Linked DNA regions of Homo sapiens: region 1 is linked to region 2. The links are contacts of gene promoters, found by promoter capture Hi-C in blood cells and fetal thymus (Javierre and others, 2016). All regions are on one chromosome and are shown on one strand. The core of a region is centred on a gene start or on the middle of the fragment in contact, and the rest is flanking DNA. Distances in the headings are between cores, read along the strand shown.

Region 1 (5,014 bases), core at 557-3,056, 580 kb after region 2:
CACTCTTGGGAAAGCCGAGCCAGAATTCCAGAAACAATGGCCCCCTCCCCACCTGTCACTGACGGAGGCAGAAACTCTTCCCGGGTCATCGATTAAGCAAGGACCGAGCAAAGAGAGGCAGTTTTGCTCTCCCTTGGGCAGCACCCCCACTCCCCACCCCCCAAGGCCCCATCCTGGAGGCTCCCTTCCTGGCTCTGACCTGGAAAGGCAGGTCAGCTGGGAAGCGGGTTTGTGCTGGCTACAGTGACAACTTGATTCTCATGAAAAGATAGGAGTTTGGCGCTCCAGGAGACCATGGGTTCCTTACAGGCTATGGTTTCAAGAGGAAGCCTGGGGACAGTTTCTCCTTAGGAATCTGCGTCCTCCTCCTCCGCAGACAAAGGGAGCGGCTTCCCTGCCATGCATTCCGAAGCCCCGAGCCTCCCCCTCCTCTCTCCATCTGCTCCGGCCTGTTGCTTCCGCGCATGTAGTGTGTAGCAGAGGCATTCGCCAATGCCGCGGCGTCCAGGGTACCCCAGCCCTAGTCTCTCCTCCCAGGGAGCCCGGCGCTTCCCTTACCCGACTGTAGCGAGAACCTCCGGGGAATCCCTTCTTCCTCCCCCAGTTCCCACACCCAGGACCCAGCTGCGGGGAGGCATCCCACACAGGAGACGCAGAGGCAGTGAGATCGGGGGTGAGGGGACGTGTGGCAAGCCCCAGCGTGCCTGAAGCAAAACAGGGTCAGGTCAGCCAAGGTGCCGGCCGCCACGGGATGAGGGCAGGAAGCCTTTGCGAAGGGCTGGGATTGCCTGTAGTCTGGGGCGGCCCTAGAATTTCTACATAGAAAGACTTAGGGCCACCAACTGCTGAAAAGCGGGGGCATGAAAGGGGTGGGGAGTGGATTGTTACCGACTAGGTTGAAGCTGGGTTTGCAAAACCACAACACTGATACTATTTGCATGGATGTTTAAGGGGGAGGGAGGATCCTGCGAGGATTCAGCGGAGTGAATCGCCTCCCACCACCACCTCTTGGTGACACTGCTGCACAGAAGTGCCGACTAGGTGGCCAAGGTGGGTTCACAGGGAGGGAGGTACCTTGGCAGGTTGGGAAGGTGGGAGCAGGCGGGGCGGGGTCAGGGGCGGCTGGCTCACCCGTGTCTTGGCGGAACTGGTTCATGGACTGCAGGTCGATGATGTAGGGCGCGAGACGGCTGTCCACCTGGCCCAGCACCACGCTGCCCCCCGCGCGGGGGCCGGCGCGGACCACCGCCTCGATGTGGTGGCTCACCGCTGGGCTGTAGGGACGCCAGCGGCCGTGCTCGTTCAGCCATTCCCAGACCACCACGGCCGAGGCCAGGAGCATGGCGAGCCCGGGGCTGCGGCGCTGCGCGGCCCGCCTCCCGGGCCCCGAGCGCCCGACCTCCTCCGCTTCCTCCTGCGCCGCCGCCTCCGGGCCTCGACCGCGCCCCCTGCCCCGCGCCCCGCCGCCCCGGGCAGCCTCAGCTCCGGCCCATGGGCTCCTCCCCAGCCGTGCATCCACCGGGGCCGGGACACCGGGGCCGCCTGGCTGGGACCGCGCGCCGCCGCCGCCGCCGGGGTCCGCTGCTGCTGCCGCTGCTCTGTGGGGTCGAGTCGCTTCATGCAAATGCCCGGCTCTCTGCAAACAGGCCCCCGCCTTGCAAAAGCCACTCGGCGGGCGCGCGGCCCGAGCCCCGGCGGCCGCGAGCTGGGGCTGACGGCGAGGCAAGGACCCAGCCCTCGCACCAGTTGCGCCTCGGCCTCTGCAGACGCCGGGGTGGGATCTCGCCGCACGGCCGCGCTCGGAATGGCACGCTCTGGTCCCCTCCCCTCTCTCCCTCCCTCCCCACCCCTTCGCCGCACGAATTGCAGTCCCCGCCGCTGGGAGAGCTCCCCCTGCCTGTGGCTCTGCTCAGTTCCTTCCAGAATGAACCACCCCTCCCAAGCAGGGCGCTAAGGCAAACCCGCGCCCGCGTGTGTTTCCCTGGTTCCTTGATGCAGAGAAGCGACCCGCCATGACACGGCCCCGGGACCACCACTGTCGCCCAGCCGCAACTTTGCAGCCTCCTTCCCCCAAATGTAATTTTCTCTCTCTCTCTCTTTTTTTTTCCTTAATGCAGCATGATCAGTGTCCGCAGCGCGAACTGGAGACACGCATTGTCTCGGGGCTTGCGCACGCACTGGCACACTCACAGTCGCACACACACGCGCGCGCACCCCAACTCCTTCCTTGCCCCGGCTCCTATTACCTCATCCTCTCCCGCATCCTTAGCTGTCCGTCAAGGAAGCAGAAGACACGCCCCCTGCTGCTCGGGCGAGTGCCCTGGAGCTTACCCGCCCCCTGCTGGCCTAAAGTGTCGTGTGCCGGCCAGTGGCCACTCCAACCTCTGCTAATGAGACCCAGTCCAAAGGGATGCAGCAATTTCGCTAATGATGGATTTATATTACCTACGTAGAGAGCAAATGTGGTTTTTCTGGCCAGATTCAACGTACTAGAGTCAGGAAGACGCATGTTAGATTAATTTTATCTGCATCGTTTCTGTAACTAAAATTATGAAACACTAGGAAAAACACGAGTTAGACTTATTTTGATCATCAATAGTTAATATGGAAAATAACCTTAAATAGGTAGGTTCTGACTAAAAGGGAAGACTGAAGTCAGGATTATGCATTATCCTTGTCAAAGAACACAAATTTTGTTTTGTTGAGATTGCAAACCACATAAAACAACGAATCGAGTCTTATCAAGATCCAAGTTATAGGATGCGGGAAAGTAAAAATAGATTATGTGTTAGAGAATGGGATTGTGAATCTTTTTGAAATAATCAATTTTTTCATAAATATCATATGACCCTTTTATGTTTTAGAAGAGTTGCTTCCCCCTCCCTCTCCTTGCAGCTGTCATTTCTCCCATTGTTAGAATTTTGCATCCTTCTACCTTTATCTTTCTCCCAACAGAGTTCTAAATACAAAGCAAAAGAAAAAGTGTGAGATCTGTTCTTCTTCAGGCCCCTAAAGGCACCAGGCTCAAGGAACCTCTGAGCTTTGTTCTTTCTGGTCTTCTTGCACAGCTTGGCCTCCAAAATGCCTAGTCGGCCTCTCCCTTATTTGGGGACTGTTCCTAATCCAACCTAAACAATACCACTCATTAAAATGTCGAGTTTCAGAATTAGAAGAACAAAAAGAAAACAAGGATACCTCGACTAATTATATCATAGGCCATTATTATTACCATTTTACAAATGACAGGACTTAAGGAATTTAAACTATTTGCCCTAGATTACATAGCTAGTTAGAGGGGAAACCAGTATTCAAAATTTAGTTGGGCTGTCTCAAAAGAAAATGCCTGTTCCATAGCATGTCCTATACAACACAGAGGTGGCACAATAACAGGCAATGTAGAAGTGTCTCAGTGTGAAAGAAGGGAAGGGAGAAAATGGGGGTAGAATTTTCTGGAAAAGAAACAGAAGGCAAACTGAAGAAAAAGTAATTTAAAAATTTATTGGGCTACTTTTATTTCTAGTCATAAAAATGGAAAGTATCAAAACTCAGGAAACTTTCTTATAGTCTTGGTAAGTATGAATCAAAAAGTGAAGAGTAATGATTCAAGGGGATATTGGAAGTACCAGCGAAAATATAGCACCTGACCAGCTAAGCCAGAAATTCCAAGGTGAAAAAAATCTAAACTAGATAAGCAGGCTACCAGCAAATGTTAGATGAGCTGTTTGAAAGGCGAATGGAAGGCAGAAGGAAACTGACGCCTACCTGCCTATGTCCAGCCTAGTTTTGTATCTGGTCTTCTTGTATCTTCCATGTTAAACACAACAGAGTATTACAGCAGAATAAAAATATCTTATGACATGTGAGAAGGTTTGTATGTAGTCTGATTCATTTGCAAGAGGAAGTGAATACACACACACACATACACACATATACACACAAATGAGAGGGGTCTTTAAAATTTTATGGAAAATGCATATTATGAAAAAACTAGGCTGGTAGTTCAAATTGTTTTTTTGCACCCAAATAAACTCATACTAACTTGTTATAACATGTCTGAACAGGATCTAGTTTGAGACACTAAGAAGGGTAAGACAATGCCCTTACTGAAGAGGATCAAGGATTAGCAGTCAAAACAATAGCCTACACCATAGATATGTCAACTGGTTCAGCTTACACAATTCTGACAAAGAAATTAAACTTTCCATTCCTTGATAGGTGCCAAAACCATTGCACCCAGGTTGGCCACAGACAAGAGCAGGCCTTTCAATAGAGATTTTAAATGGGTGGGATCAGGATCATGAAACATTTCTTTGAAGAATTGTAACAGGAGATGAAACATTACCAGTATAATCCTGATGACAAGGAACAACCAAAGCAATGGCTATCAAGAGGTAGAAGTGGTCCAGTCAAAGCAAAAGTGCACTGGTCAAAAGCAGAGACCATGGCAACAATTTTTTGGAGATGCTCAAGGCATTTTACTTACTGACTTTCTGGAGGGCCAGAGAACAATAACATCTGCCTAATATGAGAGTATTTTGCAAAAATTAGCAACAGCTTTAGGATAAAATACCTGGGAAAGCTTCACCAGAGTCGTTCTCCACCATGGCAATGTTCATGCTCATTCCTCTCATCAAACAAACGCACTTTTGTGAGCAATTTGATGGAAAATCTTTTAATCTGCTGTACAGTCCTGATTTGGCTCCTCTGACTTCTTTTTGTTTCCTAATCTTAAAAAATTTTTTAAAGAGCATCTGTTTTTCTATAGTAAAGTAAAACTGCATTGATATGGTTAGGGTCCCAGGACACTCAGTTCTTTAGTGATGGACTAAATGATTCATATCATCACCTACAAAATATCTTGAACTTGATGGTGCTTATGTTGAGAAATAAAGTGTACATTTTTTATTTTGTTTTTTAATTTTATTTTTCACAAACTTTTGGAAGTCCCCTCGTGTTTGTGTGTGTATGACTTGACATTAATAGTAAATTATAGATGTAAAATATTTGTATTTTA
Region 2 (5,469 bases), core at 81-2,580:
GCAGTGGAGCCAGGAGACAACCCCAGTTCTAATCCAGTCCAGTGCTTCCCAAACTGTAATGTGCCCATGAATCACCTGGGGAAATGGATGAATAATTAGATTCTGATTCTGCGGGGCTAGACTCAGGCCTAAGCTGCTACACTTGTAACAAGCTCCAAAGTAGATGGACTAAACTCTTGAGTGTCAAGGGCTAGATTTTAATTCTATTAAGGTAGAACCTGTGCCACTGAATCTCCAAGGCTTAGCACTGGACCTCCCCATAGAATACACTCAATAATTATGTACTGAATGAGTCAATGAATATCTGGCTTAAAACCCTATGCGTTAACCCTTTTCTGTATCAAGTTCCATTGTATCAGCTGATCCTCCCAACAAATTCCTAGGGTATGATCATTCCCATTTGATAGATAAGGAAACAGAGACTCACAGTAAGTAACCTAAGGCTTTACAGCTTTTGCGCAGCCAAGGCTGGAGGTAGTCTACCTTCAGATCCTTTGACCTAACCACAGCTGTTCCAAAAGATACGGCGGGGGAGGGGGGGACAATGACACCCGGGGATAACAATTACAGACCACCGGTTGGAGAGGAGCTGACCCATCCCAGCATGTGACCGGCTCACAGCTCCAGAGGTCACCAGAGAGCTCTGAGCTGCTCCCTGGGGGAAGGGGCAGCCAGGCCTGTAGCACCTCAGGAGAGAAACAGGAAAGGGAGAAGGAGGCTGGTCCTGGGCATAGTGCCAGGCAGCAGTGGGCAGGTGGTGAAGGGACCCCTGACCTCCCGGGCCCAAGCACCCGCTTCGGGAACCAGCTCTGGACAGACACTGTCCAGCTTGCGGGGTGGGAGAGTTAGAGGCGTTCAGGAAAATCATTGCCTAGCGATGAATCACCGGGCACATGACCCCGCAGGGGAGGGGAGGGGAGGGTGCGGAACCGGCGCGGGAAGCGGTGGGGGCTTGGGGAGGGCAAGCCTCCGGCTCGGGCCCCCCTCCAGCCTCGACTTGGGGAGCAAAGGGAAGCCCCTCTCCCATGCAGCACCCCTCCTGGCAGCACCCCGCCTGCGGCGAAACTCACGGCCTTCAGCTGCTCCAGACGGTCCTTCATCCTGAAGCCCAGGCGCCCGGAGGCAGGTAGCGCGTCCCAGGTGAGCGCGTCCCAGGTGAGCGCTTCCCAGGTGAGCTGCCGGAAGCGGCGGCCGGGCCCGCCGGGGCGAAGGAGCTGGAGGCGCAGGCGGCGGCGGGCGGCGGCCGCTAGCTAGGAGGAGCGTCCGAGGCCACGGGAGCCTCCGCCGCGCAGCCCCCTCCGCCCCCACCGGCGCCTCGCGCTCCAAATCCGGCTCCCGGGCCGGCGCCGGCGCAGCGCTGATCCGCCCTGGACCCGCCCCTACCTGGCCGCGCCCCTCGCTCCTTCTTAAAGGGCCCGCGTCCCGCCACCGCCCGGCCGCCCGGGGCGTCTCCAAAGCCCCCTTCCCTAACCCGAGAGCCCTCCAGACACGCGTGGAGTCCGGGGAGAGGCCCCTGCACCGGCGGATCCTGCCGCAGGGCCGAGGAAGAGCAAGAGCGACTGTCTGGCTGCGGTCATTCGCTGTCTGTGCCGGGCTCCTCGCTAGGATCCAGTTCTTAGCCGACTCCTTGCTAGGCGGGGACAAGCTCCCGAAAACAAATAAGACAATGTGATGTGGGCTACATTGGGTGGCAGTCGAGTGTTCTAAAAATATCCCGCCAGGAGGAAGGCATTCCGAGTAGCGGGATCCCGCGCAGCCTCAGGGCTGCTGGCAGTGAAAGTGGGGGGATGGAGGAGGTGTCCAGAGGAAAGACCTGGAGATCTGGAGATACAGGACGGTCAGGGTGGTCAGAGAATTTGGATCTTTTGCTTGTTGGAAATCGGGACCGCTCCGAGAAACGTAAGCAGCTCGATGTTGTTAGTGCCAGTGGAGACACTTGGCACTCACAATTTGCAGACGTTTGGGAAAGCATCGTTTCTCAAGAGGACCCCGTTCCCGTGTCTGTAAATCAGAGATGGTACCCACTTCGTAGTTCGCTGTGAAGCCTGTGAGCGAGGAGGGGCTTTAAAATACAGAACTTTGCACTGGAGCGCTCCCCGTCCTCGCAGCCTGCTTGGTGTGCAGGTGGTTCCCAGGCGGCTTCTGCTTCCGAAAAGCAGATCGTCCCTTTATCTCGAGTCTTCTCCCCGCCTCTCCCTCTTCTCCCTACCCTATTTGTCTTCTTGGGAACAAATGGCACATTCATCAGAGTGGAGATCCATAAACGGGACTGGCGAGCCGAAGATTTAATTCTGAAGAATAGGATCTGCTCTGTGCTTTCAGGTTAAAAAGCTGTAAATATCTTTGTAATTCTAGCAGTACTTTGCCCTCTTCTGCCATCTGAACGCGTGCTCCCTGCTGACCTCATCGGCTCCCATAAAGATACGGTGCGTATGGCAGAGGTCGGGCTTTGAGCCGGCCCCGCGGGTCTCGGCCGTAGTTCTCTCTCGCGTCCGGCACACTTCCTTCTGCCCGCTGTGCTCGCTGGGCAGGTTGTCCCCGCCTTAGTACCAGGAGGGCTTCCGCGCCCCCTGGTGGTCATACTAGGAAAGGCGAGTAGATCAGAAATACACACTGTCCCACCTCCTTCCCCTAACACATTTTTGGGGAGTTTGGGGGTTGTTTGTTTGTTTGTTTGTTTGTTTGTTTGTTTTTTAGACAGAGTCTCATTCTGTTGCGCAAGTTGAGTGCAGTGGCGCGATCACCGCTCTCTGCAGCCTCGATCCCCTGGGCCCAACCCATCCTCCCATCTCAGCCTCCCAAGTAGCTGGGATTACAGGCGTGCGCCACTACGCCCGGCTAATTTTTGTGTTTTTTTCGTAGAGATAGGGTTTCGCCATGTTGCCCAGGCTGGTCTGGAACTCCTGTATTCAAGCCATCCGCCCGCCTCGGCCTCTCGAAGGGCTGGGATTACAGGCGTGCGCCACTGCGCCCTGCCCCTTAACAGATTTTTGTTAGTGGGAATACGTAGTTCCCCGCGCTTCAAGAAAATAGAGTCTTCCGCGAGAGGCCGAGATATGAACAACCCTTCACGTTAGGAATCTGAAAAGGACCATTGGGGTCTGGAGTAAAAAATTCTCTTTCCACAGCAGGAATCAAGGGTGGCCTGTCTGCCTCTGCTCAGAGGGTTCCTGTTACAGGATAATTGTTTTGAAAAGAGTAAAATCATGACTCCTCTACAAATATAAAATGCACACACATCAAAGACTTTAATTCATTAATGAATGAGGAGACCAGTAAAGCTAGCCCTGTCCAGAGGAAAACACAAAGTGTACACACATATATAGGCAATCAGGAATGCTGAAACGAACATGTTAATAAATGCACAACTGGCCGGGTGCAGTGGCTCATGCCTGTAATCCCAGCACTGTGGGAGGCTGAGGCGGGCAGATCACTTGAAGTTAGGAGTTCAAGACCAGCCTGGCCAACATCTTGAAACCTCATCTCTACTAAAAATACAAAAAATTAGCCGGGCGTGATAGTGCACGCCTACAAATCCCAGCTACTCGGGAGGCTGCGGCAGAAGAATCTCTGGAACCTGGGAAGCAGAGGTTGCAGTGAACTGAGATCACACCACTGCACTCCAGCCTGGACCACAGAGCAAAACTCTGTCTTAAAAATTATATTTTTAATAAAAATAAATAATAAATGCAGAACTGGCCTCGGGGTGCTGGGAGAGCAATTGCACTTCTACCAGGCATCTCTATGGACAAGAATCATTGGCATTCCTATGAATTTTCTACAACTTACCAAGTTGGAAAATAGCTGCAAGATTTTATAAGGCAAAAATCACTAAAAAATCAGGTAATCCAGAAAGGTGCTTTAGATAAGGCCTAGCATGCCACAGGACACCCAATAATTTTTGGAGTTTTTGCCATTTTAACTTTTTTAGTTTTTCCAGACATTCCCAAGGTGGCACCTTCCATAGTTGTACAGTTTCAACTGTGTTAAAATTTCTTTGTCGGGGACTGTTGTGGGGTGGGGGAACGGGGAGGGATAGCATTAGGAGATATACCTAATGCTAAGTGACGAGTTAATGGGTGCAGCACACCAACATGGCACATGTATACATATGTAACAAACCTGCACGTTATGTACATGTACGCTAAAACTTAAAGTATAATAATAATAAGAATTCTTTGTCAGCTTGGGCAACAGAGTGACACCCCATTTCTACAAAACATACATAAATCGAGCCAGGTGCAGTGACTCACGCCTGTAGTCCTAGCACTTTGGGAGGCTGAGGCAGGTGGATCATGAGGTCAGGAGATCGAGACCATCCTGGCCAACATGGTGAAATCCCGTCTCTACTAAAAATACAAAAATTAGCTGGGCGTGGTGGTGTGTGCTTGTAATCCCAGCTACTTGGGAGGCTGAGGCAGGAGAATTGCTTGAACCCAGGGGGTGGAGGCTGCAGTGAGAATTGCTTGAACCCGGGAGGCAGAGGTTGCAATGAGGCGAGATTGCGCCACTGCACTCCAGCCTGGTGACAGAGCGAGACTCCGTCTCAAAAAAAAAAAAAAAATTAGCCAGGTATAGTGGTGCTCACATGCAGTCCCCAGCTACTCAGTAGGCTGCGGTGCAGGATTGCTTGAGCCCAGAATTTTGAGGCTGCAGTGAACTATGATCACGGCACTGCACTCCAGGCTGGGTGACAGAGAGAGACATGTCTCAAAAAAAAAAAAAATTAAAAGTATATCTATTCCTTTAAAAAGAGGAACAGGATATTTATAATGAAGCACAGATAAAGGGCAATTGGATAATTGTGGCTTTAAACTCCTTGTAATTAAAGAAATAAGCCATCTAATGTATTTCCTCGTTTGAATGTTTGAATAGCCATACTGAATTTTACTGCACTTTTATAACTTTGTTTTGTCCTGATATCTCACAATCACTCAGGGAGGGAGTTAGGGTACATATTATTATCCCCATTTTATTATAAATTAAATTAAGTACAGAGAAATAAGATGATTTTCCCAAGCTCACATAGCATGCTGATAGACATGCTGCAAAAGGCAGTGGTTGCCTGCCCAGGCTGTGGAGCCAAACTACCCAGGTCAAATCTCAGTTCTACCACTAATGGTTGTGTGACCTTTGGCAATTGATTTAATGCCCCTGTGCCTCAATGTCCTTATCCGTAAGCAAAGATAATAATAATACCCATCTCAGCCGGGCGTGGTGGCTCACACCTGTAATCCCAGCACTTTGGGAGGCTGAGGCAGGTGGATCACTTGAGGCCAGGAGCTCAAGACCAGCCTGGCCAACATGGTGAAACCCTGTCTCTAAGAAAAATACAAAAATTAGCCAAGGGTGGTGGCTCATGCCTGTAATCCCAGCAACTCAGGCGGCTGAGGCATGAGAATTGCTTGAATCTGGAAGGAGGAGGTTGCAGTGAGCCAAGATTGCACCACTGCACTATAGCCTCAGTGA

The links. The method cuts DNA at HindIII sites, captures the fragments that hold promoters and counts their contacts. A CHiCAGO score of 5 or more calls a contact.
Region 1: the fragment with the promoter of DTX4 here is called in contact with the fragment with the promoter of STX3 in region 2 in 4 of 17 cell types (non-activated CD4 T cells, neutrophils, activated CD4 T cells and 1 more); the score reaches 6.3 in non-activated CD4 T cells.

The regions. Positions count from the first base shown.
Region 1 is chr11:59,168,924-59,173,937 of GRCh38, reverse strand. It overlaps DTX4 (deltex E3 ubiquitin ligase 4), which reads right to left and starts at 1,806. Exons shown (of 9, transcript NM_015177.2): 1 at 1,132-1,806. The coding sequence starts at 1,342. LOC124902601 (basic proline-rich protein-like) reads left to right here and starts at 493. Exons shown (of 2, transcript XM_047427951.1): 1 at 493-673; 2 at 1,208-3,863. The coding sequence starts at 493. The coding sequence ends at 2,016. It overlaps LOC124902675 (a long non-coding RNA gene), which reads left to right. Exons shown (of 4, transcript XR_007062682.1): 4 at 1-239. RefSeq lists enhancers at 740-849, 292-1,120, 1,748-2,042, 2,129-2,669 and silencers at 1,190-1,239, 1,300-1,869. The HindIII fragment of the contact is 13,201 bases long and covers 1-4,581 here.
Region 2 is chr11:59,751,237-59,756,705 of GRCh38, reverse strand. It overlaps STX3 (syntaxin 3), which reads right to left and starts at 1,330. Exons shown (of 11, transcript NM_004177.5): 1 at 1,071-1,330. The coding sequence starts at 1,100. RefSeq lists a silencer at 1,130-1,389 and enhancers at 2,260-2,419, 2,356-2,650, 2,416-2,710, 2,400-2,900. The HindIII fragment of the contact is 11,536 bases long and covers 1-5,469 here.